Linked DNA regions of Homo sapiens: regions 2 and 3 are each linked to region 1. Evidence: promoter capture Hi-C in human tissues and cell types (Jung and others, 2019). All regions are on one chromosome and are shown on one strand. The core of a region is centred on a gene start or on the middle of the fragment in contact, and the rest is flanking DNA. Distances in the headings are between cores, read along the strand shown.

Region 1 (4,331 bases), core at 865-3,364:
TATGTGTCCATGTGTCCTCTTCATTTACAAGTATTAACATTCAATCCTCACAACATCTCTATAGGGGAAGGTATTCTTTGAAAATCTTAGCAGTTTTTTCACTTTTCTAGGATATTATATTTAGTTAATGGTAGGGCTAGAGCCAAAACTGTCTGGCTCAAGACCTAAGCTCTTAACCAATGTGCTATTTTTCTTTTCCCATACCCACTTGGTCATCATATCCTATTAATTCTACCTCTGCAATATTATTCAAACTCACCCCCTTGTCTGTAGTTCTGCTATTATGATCAGGGTTCAGGATCTCATAAAACATTTCTCTAATCTTCATACTGGGGTTCCTAATACAACTTTTGCCTGTTTCAAATAATCCCTACATTCCTGTCATGTCATTCACACTTAAATGGATATGAAGTTTCTACTTCTCTGCTTAAAGGCCTTCTAGGAAAACTTTCTAGCCTGTCATACAAAGTCTCCATCTGATTCCTACACATAATTTCTGCCTTGACCTTTTGTTCATAACTGAATCTGCATTCGTATCTCCCATGATTCTTTTCTCTTTTCATGTCTGTCTTCTCTTAATATTCAGACTTCCTTGTGAGCAAGAGTCCATATAGCTCCATAGAGCTATGAGTATATAAAATACACTCAATAAATATGCCTTGAGTAAACTGTACTTAGAATCTTTCTTTGTTTCAAGATCCATATTTGAGATCATAAGATCCATATTTTTGAGATTCATAATAAAAGATAACTTCAAGAAAGTAAATGAAGAATTTATTTCTATGGCAAAAAATATTGATATATACTATGCTGTTAATTATATATGAAATATTACATCTGTTGAGATTAGGACCTGGAGTCTGATTCTTCATTTCATGGATTACACCAATATCTTTGCTCTAAAAGATGAGGCCAGGCATGGTGGCTCATGCCTGTAATCCCAGAACTTTGAGAAGCCAAGGTGAAAGGATTGCTTGAGCCCAGGAGTTTGAGACTAGCCTGGGAAACATAGTGTGACCCCCATCTCTACAAAAATAAAAAATTAGCTGGGAGTAGTGGTGCACACCTGTAGTCCCAACTGTTGGGGAGACTGAGCTGAGAGGATCTCTTGAGCCTGGGAGGTCAAGGCTGCAGTGAGTCGTGATCACACGTCTGCACTCCAGCCTGGTTGAAGAGCGAGATTCCGTCAAAGAACAAGAAAGAAGAAAGAAGGAGAAGGAGGAGAAGAGGAGGAGGAGGAGAAGGGGGAGGAGGAGGAGGAAGAAGGAGAAGGAGGAGGGGGAGGAGGAGGAATTGCAGGTAGTTACTATTCCGATTGCTTCACCCCACCTCACCCCCCTCCCCGGCCTACTTGTTTTACTCCTAGATAATATATCTAACAGCAATCCAACTATAAAATATTAATATATGTAACATATAAGCATTTGACTATTACAACTGAAGGAAAATGGTAGCTATCACTGGGGGCGAACAGGATCACCCAAGTGCATTTAATGGACTGTAATAAACCACATTTCCTCACAGCATGATTCAAATGTTCTTCCTCAATTTGCAATTAACTGATATCCACAACTGGTTACTTTGGGAACTTTGTATTCCTGCTTTAGGAAAACAAACAAGGTTTATTTCTTGTGGTTATCATATAAAAATAACTTCTCATATCTAAGATCTTTCAAGCTTCCTCTCACTTGCCAACCTTGCCTCACCTTCCTGGTTTACACTTCTAATAATTTTCATGTGTTCCTCCGGCTAACCCCTGGACTCCTGATCTCCTTGCTGGAGGTGAGAATGATGCCAGGGTTAGCGACTGCTCTGCGGTTCCCCAAAGCTCCTCCTACCCAGACGGCGACAGTTTGGATGCTGAGGTTGGAAAGCAGGACAGGGGACACTCCTGAGTGCAGCTCGGAGCGGGGAAAGCCGAATTCCGGGGGCTGAAGAGGCCGCGCAGGGGACGAGCGCCTGCGATGCGGAGCGTGGACTTCTTGGGCCGTACCCCTGCGGCTCAAGCTGCCCCGGATTCGCTTCTCCGGCCGTGCAGCCCGGCGCGGGCCGCTGTCCACAGTGGGAGGTGCTGAAAGCAGGGAGCGGGTGCGGGGGCGGCGAGGCGGACCGCTGCTCCGAGCGCCCCCCTCCTCGCTCCGCGGCTCCTCCAGCCCTCCCCTCCTCCCGCAGCCATGTTCCACGCGCGGGGAGGGGTGGGGGGAGGGGAGAGGCACGGGGGATCAGGGCGGAGAGAGCCGGCTCTGCCTCGGGGAAGGAGGGGATGAGAGTTGGGAGCAGCGGGAGGAGGCGGCGGCGGCGGCTAGCGAGGAGACAGAGCTGGGTCCTGCAGTAGGACTCCCGGGAGCCACCATTATGGTGAAGAGGAAGAGCTCCGAGGGCCAGGAGCAGGACGGCGGCCGCGGCATCCCCCTGCCCATCCAGACCTTCCTGTGGCGGCAAACCAGGTGAGGGGCGCAGAGGGCGCACCGCGGGCCGCCCTGGGCTGGGGGCGCTCCTGGGGCCGCCCGGGTCGCCGCTGCCGCCGCCGCCGCTGAGGCCGCGCCACAGCCTGCAGCTCCCTCTCTGGGGCTGGAAAACAAGCCCTCTGCACCAGCTTAAAAACACGCATTAAAATATGTATATATATGTATATATTTCAGTGAAGTTTGACGACAAGCAGATTGGCAGTTGTCGCATAAATGTATACATTATTTTAGGGGGTGGGAGGGCAGAGAGCCTGGGAAGAGGGGGCGGGGAGCTAGATAATTATGACTGGTTGTGCTCCTGCGTCCAATTCCCCCTCCATCTCCTGCTGTAATTCTAGCCCAGTGACCTGTTGTTTTTCCAGCTCCTGTTTGGCGAATATCTGCTATGCCCACTTGTTAACCGTTTTGCTCAGATTAATCTCCCCAGTTAAATCTCCTGAGGATTTGTGATAAGGGACCTTCCCCCACAACCCCGGAAAGGCCTGACACCTATTCCAATAAACAGAAAAGGTTTTCTTTATTATTGTTATTTTAGAGATTTATCAGATAAGATATTAGATTCTGGAAATTATGACCCATAAGCCGTGTTCAATTTTCAGTTTTTATTATGACTGTACACGTAAGTAATGCACCACTTCTGACCACTGGCGATTTAAAATCTTAGAAGTCTTCAGATTAAGAGTGGATACCGAAAACCATCGAGATCCACTTCTCTTTCATATATGCAATTACACGTGTAAAAGAAAATGTCATCAGCTGTTCAACACCTGCTCATTAAAAAGCTATAAGGAAGCATGAAATTTGAATTTCATAGCATCCTGTCTTATTCATTGAAAAATACGTCACAAGGATGCTTTAATAATAATTTTACTTATGTTTATTAACAAATATCTCTATTAATTTTTCAGTGCATTTTTGAGGCCCAAACTGGGGAAGCAATATGAAGCTTCTTGTGTGGTATGTGATTTTCACCATTTAATAATTATTTCCCTATTCTGTGTGGTGGTTTGAACCCAAAGACAGATTTTAAATCAAACGGACTATATATATTAATTCACTTGGCAAATATTATTGATCACCCACTCTGTGCCAGGCACAATTCTCTGTGCTGGAATAGAACAATGATAAAAACAAATACAGTGTTTACATCCTAGTAGAAAGGGGACAAGCCACAAACAAATAAGTAAATACATAGTAAGCCAGATGGTGGTAAGCACTATGGAGAAAAATTAAGCAAAAAGAAATACTAGGAAGCACTAGGGAGGGGAGTTTTATAAGAATGGATAGATAAGGCTTATCTACCCATTAATGTGAACCTTGGCCAAAGACACAAGGGGAAGGGAGGGAAGGACAGCTGAGGGAAGAGCAGAGGAAACATGTTAAAGGAAATTAGCACCTACTGGGGAATAAGTGAAAGGGTGGGGCGGGATCGAGTGGTAGAAGAGAAGGCAGAGAGATAACAGGGAACCAGGTGGTGTAGGGTGTTTTTGCCACCTGCAAGTGTGAAGTCGAATCCTTAATCAACAAAACTGAGACTTATAGTGGAAGTTCATATGATGGAGTGCCTGTGAAAGAACTACTTGAACAAAATATATGCATTTCTGCACTTTTATGTCTTGCATATGTTCTCCAATTCTAAAAATGAATAATATAAAATAATTGTGAAAATAATACTGTTAATATTTATACAAAATAAAATGCATTTGTCCTGAGATTCTAAGGGAATCTTATATCCCTACAAATTCTTGTTTCACAAATTGAGAAAATAAGACATGAAATCATGAAGCAAAATTGAAATGGACTTTTCACAGCCTTCATTAATATTTGGAGCTTACCTAAAAGTCTTTACATTGCATATATTAT
Region 2 (4,331 bases), core at 785-3,284, 360 kb before region 1:
AAGTTTTATTAATCATCAGGAATGCAAAGTTGGTTCAATATGAGGATCAATCAATTATAATAAACTAATTTAATAAAATAAGGACAGAAGCCATATAATCATCTCAATTGATGCAGAAAAGGCATTTTCTGCATCAAAATTCAACACCCTTTTATGATAAAAATGCTTAACAAACCAGGATAGAAGGAAGCTTCCTCAACTGATAAGGAATATTCTTGAAAAACCCACAGCTAACATCATTCTTACTGATGAATAACTGAAGTATTTACTTTTAAGATCAGGAACAAGAAAAGTATGTACGCTCTCACTGCTTCTATTCAACATTGTACTGAAAATTTGTAGTCAGGGCAATTAGGCAAGAAATAAAATAATAAAGACTTCCATATTAAATAGGAAGAAGTAAACTTATATCCAGTTGCTGACATGATTTTGAATGTAGAAAATACTAAGTATTTTTAAAAACCTATCGAAGCTTATAAATGAGTTCAGCCAGTTTGCAGAATACAAGATCAATCAAGTTGATAATTTCTATAAATTATCAAAAAACAATCCAGAAATAAAATTAAGAAAACTGATCCTTTTACTATAGCATCAAAAAGAATAAAATACTTAGGAATAAATTTAACAAAAGAAGCATAAAGAAGTATAAGATTTGTATACTGAAAACATGGAAAAAATTAATAAAAACCTAAATAAATGGAAAGACACCATGTGTTTATGGATTAGAAGATTTAATTGTTAAAATAGCAATGCCCCCAAACCGATCTATAGATTCAATGCAATCTTTATCAAAGTTGCAACTTCCTTTTTGTGTTATTGTCACAGAAATTGACTAGCTGATCCTAGAATTCATATGGAAATGCAAGGAACTTAAAGTGGCCAGAATAGCCTAGAAAAAGAACAAAGTTGGAGGACTCACACTTCCTAATTCTAAAAGTTGCTCCAAAATTACAGTAATTAAAACAGTGTGCTGCTCCTATAAAAATAGACACATAGCTCAATGGAATAGAAATGAGAGTCCAGAAATAAACCCTCACAGTTTTGGTCAACTGATTTTAAAGAGTATGCCATGACAAATCAATAGGGGAAAGAGTCGTCTTCAACAAATGTTGGTGGGACAACTGGTTATCCACATGCAAAAGATGAAGTTGGACTCGTATCTCATATCTTATAAAAAGTAACTCAAAACGGACCAAGCACCTAAATGTACAAACTATAAAACTCCTAGAAGAAAAAAGGTATACATCTTCATGACCTTAAATTAAGCAATATTATTTTAGAAATAACATCAAAAGTACAAGCAATCAAAGAAAAAAATGAATTAATTGGACTTTATAAAAATTGAAAACTTTTGTTATAACGGAGAGAATCAAGAAAGTGAAAAAGGGAATTCATAGAATCAGAGAAAATATTTGCAAATCATATGTCTGATAAAGGATTAGTATCCAAAATGTGTAAAGAACACTAACGATAAAACTATAGATAATCTAATTTTTTAAATAGGCAAAGGATAGACAATTTTTCACATAAAATATATAAGTGGCCAATAAGCACATGAAGACATGCTCAACATTATTAGTCATTATTAGTCATTAGGAATATACAAACCCAAATCACAATAATATACCACTTCCCACTTACTAGAATAGCTATGATCAAACAAGACAATAACAAGTGTTGATGAGAATGTGGAGAAATTGACACCTTCATGCATTGCTTATGGAAATGTAAAATGGTGTATCTGTTTTGGGAAAAGTTTTAGCAATTACTCAAATTGTTAAAAATATAATTAAAATATAACCCAGCAATATCATGCCTAGGTATACACACAAAAGAATTGAGAATGTCCATAAAACTACTTGTATAGTACTGTGCTTAGCAGCACAATTCACAATAGCCCAAAAGTGGAAACCACCCAAATGTGCATCAACTCTTTATCAACAGATAAACAGAAGTGTTATGGCCATGCAAAAGAACACGACTGAGTCATAAAAAAGGAATGAAGTACTTATGCTTGCTACAACATGAATGCGCCTTGAAAATATTATGCCAAGTAAAAGAAGTCAGTCATAAAGCGCTGCATGGTGTATGCTTCCATTGATATGACATGTCCAAAATAAGCCAATCCATAGAGACTGAGGAGAAGGAAGAATGGAAAGTGGACTGCTAATGGTTGTAGAGTTTCATTTTGTGGTGATAAAAATGTGGAAATTCGTGGCAATGGTTGTACCACTGTAAATATGCTAAACCTCACTGGATTGTACTCTTTATAAGAGTGAATTTTGTGATATCTGAATTATAACAAAATTTAAAAAGTAAAACATGAAAAAGATAAGCTATGTCAATCTTAACCAAAAGAAATCTGAAATTATTTTATTAATATTACACAAAGTAAACTTCAGAAAAGCAATATTACCTGGAAAGGAGGGATAGTAACCATTTTACAGGGAACAATTCAGCAAGAAGACAGAAAATCCTACTTGCATATATATATTATTTTGGAGGTTCAAAATGCATGATGGAAAATCTAATAGAATGGAAAAGAAAAATGACAAATCTACAATTTTGGTCGGATATTTCAACACTCTTGCCTCCACTTATAAATGGAATAAAGCACAGGGGTTGGGCTGGAATAAAAAGAAAATATGTAAGAATATTGATACAAACAATATTAAGCAAATTTATACAACTGGCAGTTTTAAACACTCAACAGCAGTAGGTACATATTGTTTCTTTACAGATTTATTGGGATATAATTTACACACCATAAAATTCACCTATTGTTAGTGTATAGTTTGACGCATTTTACTAGGTTTAGGTGATTGTGCCCCCATAACAATAATATGGTCTTAGAACACTAGGATGACCACAATAAGTTCTCTTATGAGGCTTATAGTGAATTGTTGCTCACACTCTTAGGCCTCAGGCAACCAGTGATATCCATTTTGTTTCAACAGTTTAGCCTCTTTAAATTTCATACGAATGAATTCATGTAGTAAGTAGTCTTTTGCATCTGATTTCTCTAACTTAGTAAAATCTCTTGGAATTTTATCCCACTTGTTGCATGTATCAGTATTCTGTCCCTTAAATTGTGTGCATTATTCTAGTGTAGAAATATATCACAAATTATTTATTCATTCACTACTTCATGGGCATTTTGATAAATTCCTATTTTCAGCTATTACGAATTGTGCTGCTATGAACATTGAGATGAACAACTTGATGTAGACATATGTTTTCATTTATTTTGGGTAGATGGCTGGGAGTAGAATACTTAGGTCATATGGCAAGTGCATGTTTAAATTTTTAAGAAGCTTACTAACTGCTTCCTAGAGTAGATCGCTATGTCTTGAGTATGGCCCCTTAAGTTCATGTGTTGGGAACTTAATCTCCAATGCAACAGTGCAGAGAGGTCGGACCTTTAAGAGGTCATTAGCTCATGAAGGTTTTGCCCTCATGAATGAATTAATGCTGTTATTGCAGGAGTGGGTTAATTATCAAGAGGGTGGGTTCCTGATGAAAAAAGAGTTCAGCACCTCACCCTCCACCCCAACCCCTATGTGTGATATTGCCCTTCTGCTTTCTGGTAGAGAATGATGTGTCAGGAAGGCCCTCACCAGATGCAAGCCTCTCCACTTGGGACTTCTCAGACTCCGGAACTGTAAGCAATAAATCTTTCTTCTTTATAAATTACCCAGTCTCAGAAATTCTGTTACAGTAGCACAAAACAGACTAAGATGTGGGTGTACAATCTTACACTCTTACCAGTGATGTATGAGAATTCCAGTTTTCTTCCCACCCATATCAGTACTTGATATTGTCTCTCTCTCTCTCTCTTTTTTTTTTTTTTTGTAGCCTTTCTATTGTGTATGTTGTGGTATGTCATTGTGGTTTGAATTTGCATTTTCCTAATGGTTACTGATATTAACACCTTTTTTGTTCTTAACAGCCTTTACTATATCTTCTGTGGTAAAGTGTCTATTCAAATATTTTGCCTTTTGCAAGGGTAGGATGTGATGTTTATCTCTTTATTATTAAGTTTGAGAGTTCTTTATAATTTCTGGATACAAGTCTTTTATAGGACATAATGATTTGGAAGTATTTACTCCCAGTTTTTGGCTTGCCAATTTTTTTCTGAACGGAATCTTTTCGAGAGCAAAAGCTTTTAATATTAAAGATATCTATTTTTTTCCATTTTTGATAATCCTTTAGGTGACATACCAAAGAAGTTTTTGCCTAATTTGAATCACAAATATTTTCTTCTATGTTTTTTCCTAGTTTTAAAACTTTATCTCTTATATTTGGGTATCTCACCCATTTTAAGTCAACTT
Region 3 (4,331 bases), core at 955-3,454, 340 kb before region 1:
CCTCCTTAATGCTAAAAGTAGTCACTTTAGGTAAGTCATTAGTAAATGCATGAACCTGAAGATAACAGTTTTGAAACAATCTCAAATTTTTTTGTCTCTGTTATAGATTAGTTAAAGATGCTAATAAACTCTTTGAGTCATATCTGATTCTCTCAGATATATCAAGTGTTTTTGCTACTTTAATTATCTCTTTACTATTGCCATTACCTTTATCTACTCAATCTAGACCTTTTCATGTAAGGACTGTATTTTGATCATTTCACCATATTTTCCCTCCCTTCACATCATTCTTTTTAATTCGACATTTGGATGTTAGACTTACTGTTCTCTAGCTATTTTGGTTTCAGTAATGTTACTCTCTTGATACAAATTTGGCCTTTATTTTTCATTAAGGAGAGCACTTATTACCATTTATGTATTTATTTATTCATTATGAGAAACAACTTTTGATATTCTCAGTTTTCAATTGCAGAAAATGATTCTAGGCACCAAAAGCAGTTAAAAGTCTGCAAATTAATATGTAGTACACAAAAGGCCAAAGTCAAGGGAGACAGTCTGTATGAAGGTTTGGGTGGGTGGGTAGGTGGGTGGGCGTAGAGGAAGATGTGGAATGAAAGCAAATTCTCAGCTATTAAAAGCTGTCCATGTAGGGTAGAGATGAGCCTTTTTGTCTAAGAGGGTGAAGAAGGAATAAATGTTTTGTTTTTCTGTTTCAACATATTTTGTCCCCATCCCTCCCCTGTCATGTCTTTGAACTAAGGCCATGGTGCTTCCTTATAAAAATTATACAGTATGTTTATTGGAAGGAGTTTTACAGTGAATTAGGTGAATTCAGAATTTTAAAATGATGTGAACACAATTAGATGAATTTTTATGAAAAACACTTTGAATCTAATCTTTGATCTTTCCTGTTCAAGACATAAGCTTTCCTTTGAATGGTAGTACTTTAACTGTAATACATTTTACTTAAACATTTCAGTAAAATTCTATGGAAAGTTAGACAAAATAAAGAGCTCAGGATCCTCTTTCAGTCTACTGTTAAGTTTATATTGTGGAAGTTGGGGAAAGTTTTAGACAGTTTGTTTTCCGTTAAAACACACACTAGAGGGGGCAAATTTCTTTTTTTTTTTTTTTGCTTTTTGTTATGTTAATGAGCAAATAATTTACTTTTAAGATCACATACCTTGACTTTTTTCTTTCCTTTTTTGTCTTCTTTCCATTCTCCTCTTTCCCTTTTCTTTTCTTCTTTACTTAGATTGCTCCTTTCTTTCAGTTTGTATTGGCAAAATAAACATTGGTCTTTAGAAAATGAAATTATAGCCTGATATTCTTATTGAAATTTATTTTTCATTATATTTATATTTCTCATTTAACATGAAGTTTTATGCTAACCTCTCCTCCTTCTCAAGGCTCCATCCCTATCTTGGTCCTTTCTTTGAACTTGGCTTTTATATCCCCTAGGCTTCAACAGTTTTTTCCTTGTATACCAATCTTTCATAACGCTTTGTACCTCAAAAAGGCCTTTAAAAACCAGAAGAAAAGTTACTACCCTATTTCTCCCGATTAGTTTGTATCCAAGTTTATTCAGGTTCCCTTAGGTTATAGGTAATTGCTCGCCTCAATGTGTCCTCATTAGCCTTCTTTGAATTACTTTATTTTATTTTATTTATTTATTTATTTATTTATTTATTTATTTATTTATTTATTTTGAGACGGAGTCTCGCTCTTTCGCCCAGGCCGGAGTACAGTGGCGCCATCTCGGCTCACTGCAAGCTCCGCCCCCCGGGTTCACGCCATTCTCCTGCCTCAGCCTCCCGAGTAGCTGGGACTACAGGCGCCCGCCACCGCTCCCGGCTAATTTTTTGTATTTTTAGTAGAGACAGGGTTTCACCTTGTTAGCCAGGATGATCTCGATCTCCTGACCTCGTGATCCGCCCGCCTCAGCCTCCCAAAGTGCTGGGATTACAGTCATGAGCCACCGTGCCCGGCAATTACTTTAAAGACATTTTCAGACAAAAGTAATACATGTATACAACGAATTTTTTTAAATAAAAAATTTGGCTAGCCAACTGACTTTTTATTATTTTGTTCATCAGACACTATAAAACATGGTTCAACTAGTTTTTTTTTTTTAACAACTAGTAAAGTTACTATGTGTCAGGCAGTCCATTGTCTTTATGTTAGTTAACTAGTTCCACTAATGTGTACCTATTAAGTGAAGTATGAACTACTCTATGAGCAATCAGTAAATGTTGAACTAAATTAATTTAATTTTAAGTAAAATATTCCTAATTACATTTCTCTGTATAGCATCATCATTAGCCATCTTAATCTACCTCAAAAATGACCATAAAATACAGTGCTTGAATATCATGAGATATTTCATCGCTTAACTGTCTAGGTCCTTTACAGTTAAAGCAAACTCACAAGTAAATATACAAACTGACTCTATTTGAGACAAAACCATCATTTCAATATGAACCCTTTACATTTATTTAAGTAGTAATGGATTTTAGGTGGCTACTACCTTTGCATTACAACAATTTAAAAGTACAACATTGTGTTGTTAATGCATGGTGCTGAAATTACATAATGAATTGGCATGAGAAAGTGTTCATCAATTTTAAAATGAATAATATGGTATCATTTTGATTGGTATTAAGGCAATTAAATAATGCTCGGCTTTGACATTTTACTATTTTATTTGGGTATTGTACCTCTCAAATTGGTAATTTTCTCTTCCCTTAAGAGTCTACCTTTTTGAGCAAAATAATGTATTAAGTAATAGGCTGCCTATTTTTTATTGTTGTTTATATGATTCACTACGTCCTTTTGGCCCACTTTGAAAAACAAGCAAAAAAGTTTTTAGGATTCAGTTATTCATTCTTTTTATCTTAATAGGTCATCTAGTATAGCCAGGAAAATATTTGATTCTTTAATTTGCTACAAAACTTATTTATTGTTTGAACAAAATTTTCAATCTGTAGCATACAATTTCTTTACTTAGTGGATGAGAACATGGAATTATAATACTTGTAACAACTTCTCAGCCTGCTAATTTTGTCTACCTGGTGTTTCACAAGGGCTAACATGATGGTGGCAGTGGTGGTATTTGTGTGTTTGTGTATAATTACTTTCTAAGATAGAGTTAGACTTTTATATATTTGCTTTTTTCATTGGTGAAATCAATTATTATGCAATCAGTTGATTCCACATGAGAACAGTTGGTATTAAATACAATTTAATAGGGAAAACAATGACCAAGTATTTATTAATGAAATCAAATTAGATTAATATTAAAGTATTGCTGTATTTTTCTGTTTGGATTAAGATAGTCCAGATTCCATTGTTCATTATTGAAATCAAATGGTAAAGCTAAATCTTGTGCTCAAAATTAAAACATCTCCATGTTGATCAAAATGTCCTAAGTTGGAATACTGGCTACTTAAATGTATCTTTTAAGAAGTTCAGGTGACACTGCTTTTACATGGAAAATGCCCTTTATCTTCACTTAAACATCAGAAACCAGGACTGATGGAACTTTTAAGAATTTTGCTGCTAGGAGAACATAAAATACTAAGCATCTACTGAAACCTGAATCTCTTATAAAACAACCAAGTGACTATGATCTAGGACTTATTTAAAAGATCTTTGGCCACTGTATCTCAGACTAAAGTTTTGCCTTATTCGGGATGAAGATTATTTCAGAGCACTGAGTGGCCTTTGGTGAAACTTAACAGTTTTTTTCATTTGTTTAAGTTCTTATAGCTTTAAAACTCAGTCACGAATTTCATGCTTTTTCTTCTTTTGTCTTCAGTAGCACCATATTGAGAGTGGTCAATATCAAAACTGGCAGTATGAAGCTTTGTACAATCCTGGACATTCTTACTGCCTTATTTAGTCGCTTCCCAAATGGTATCATGAGGGTATTAATAGGAATGCAAAGTTCTCCATTAAAAAAATGGCATTTAAAATGGATAAACTGATTTTTAATAAAATCTTTTTATTCCTAACATATTTATGATTTATGTAATGGAATAACTTTTTGTAGCCCTGTTAATTACTGGATTAGAAGGACTGTGTGTTTACATATCTGGAAATATTTAAAATGCTATTAAATGCATTCTTTTTGTAATTAGTTAATTATTTTTTACATTTACAAATGAGAGTTACAAATACATTCTTTATTTCTGTGCCTCTGCCCCATCACTGAAAAGGCATCAATTCTCAAGACTTGCTATTTATATATGAATTAGAGAATGTTTGATGGGGAAAAGAGACTATCAAGGGCAAATGTTGTGAACCTGTGGAGTACATATAAGTAAACTGGG

The links. The method cuts DNA at HindIII sites, captures the fragments that hold promoters and counts their contacts. A contact is called where the count stands out against the background at its distance.
Region 2: a fragment that was not itself captured here is called in contact with the fragment with the promoter of UNC80 in region 1 in 1 of the 25 tissues and cell types used here (dorsolateral prefrontal cortex).
Region 3: a contact is called between a fragment that was not itself captured here and the fragment with the promoter of UNC80 in region 1, in 2 of the 25 tissues and cell types used here (dorsolateral prefrontal cortex and hippocampus).

Annotation. Positions count from the first base shown.
Region 1 is chr2:209,769,718-209,774,048 of GRCh38, forward strand. It overlaps UNC80 (unc-80 subunit of NALCN channel complex), which reads left to right and starts at 2,115. Exons shown (of 65, transcript NM_001371986.1): 1 at 2,115-2,447; 2 at 3,377-3,425. The coding sequence starts at 2,356. RefSeq lists an enhancer at 3,674-4,175. The HindIII fragment of the contact is 3,928 bases long and covers 722-4,331 here.
Region 2 is chr2:209,409,893-209,414,223 of GRCh38, forward strand. No RefSeq gene overlaps it. Among named protein-coding and RNA genes, the nearest start is that of MAP2, 12 kb to the right of the region's middle. The HindIII fragment of the contact is 3,407 bases long and covers 332-3,738 here.
Region 3 is chr2:209,427,263-209,431,593 of GRCh38, forward strand. All of the region lies in intron 1 of MAP2 (microtubule associated protein 2), which reads left to right. Among named protein-coding and RNA genes, the nearest start is that of MAP2, 5.4 kb to the left of the region's middle. The HindIII fragment of the contact is 5,532 bases long and covers 1-4,331 here.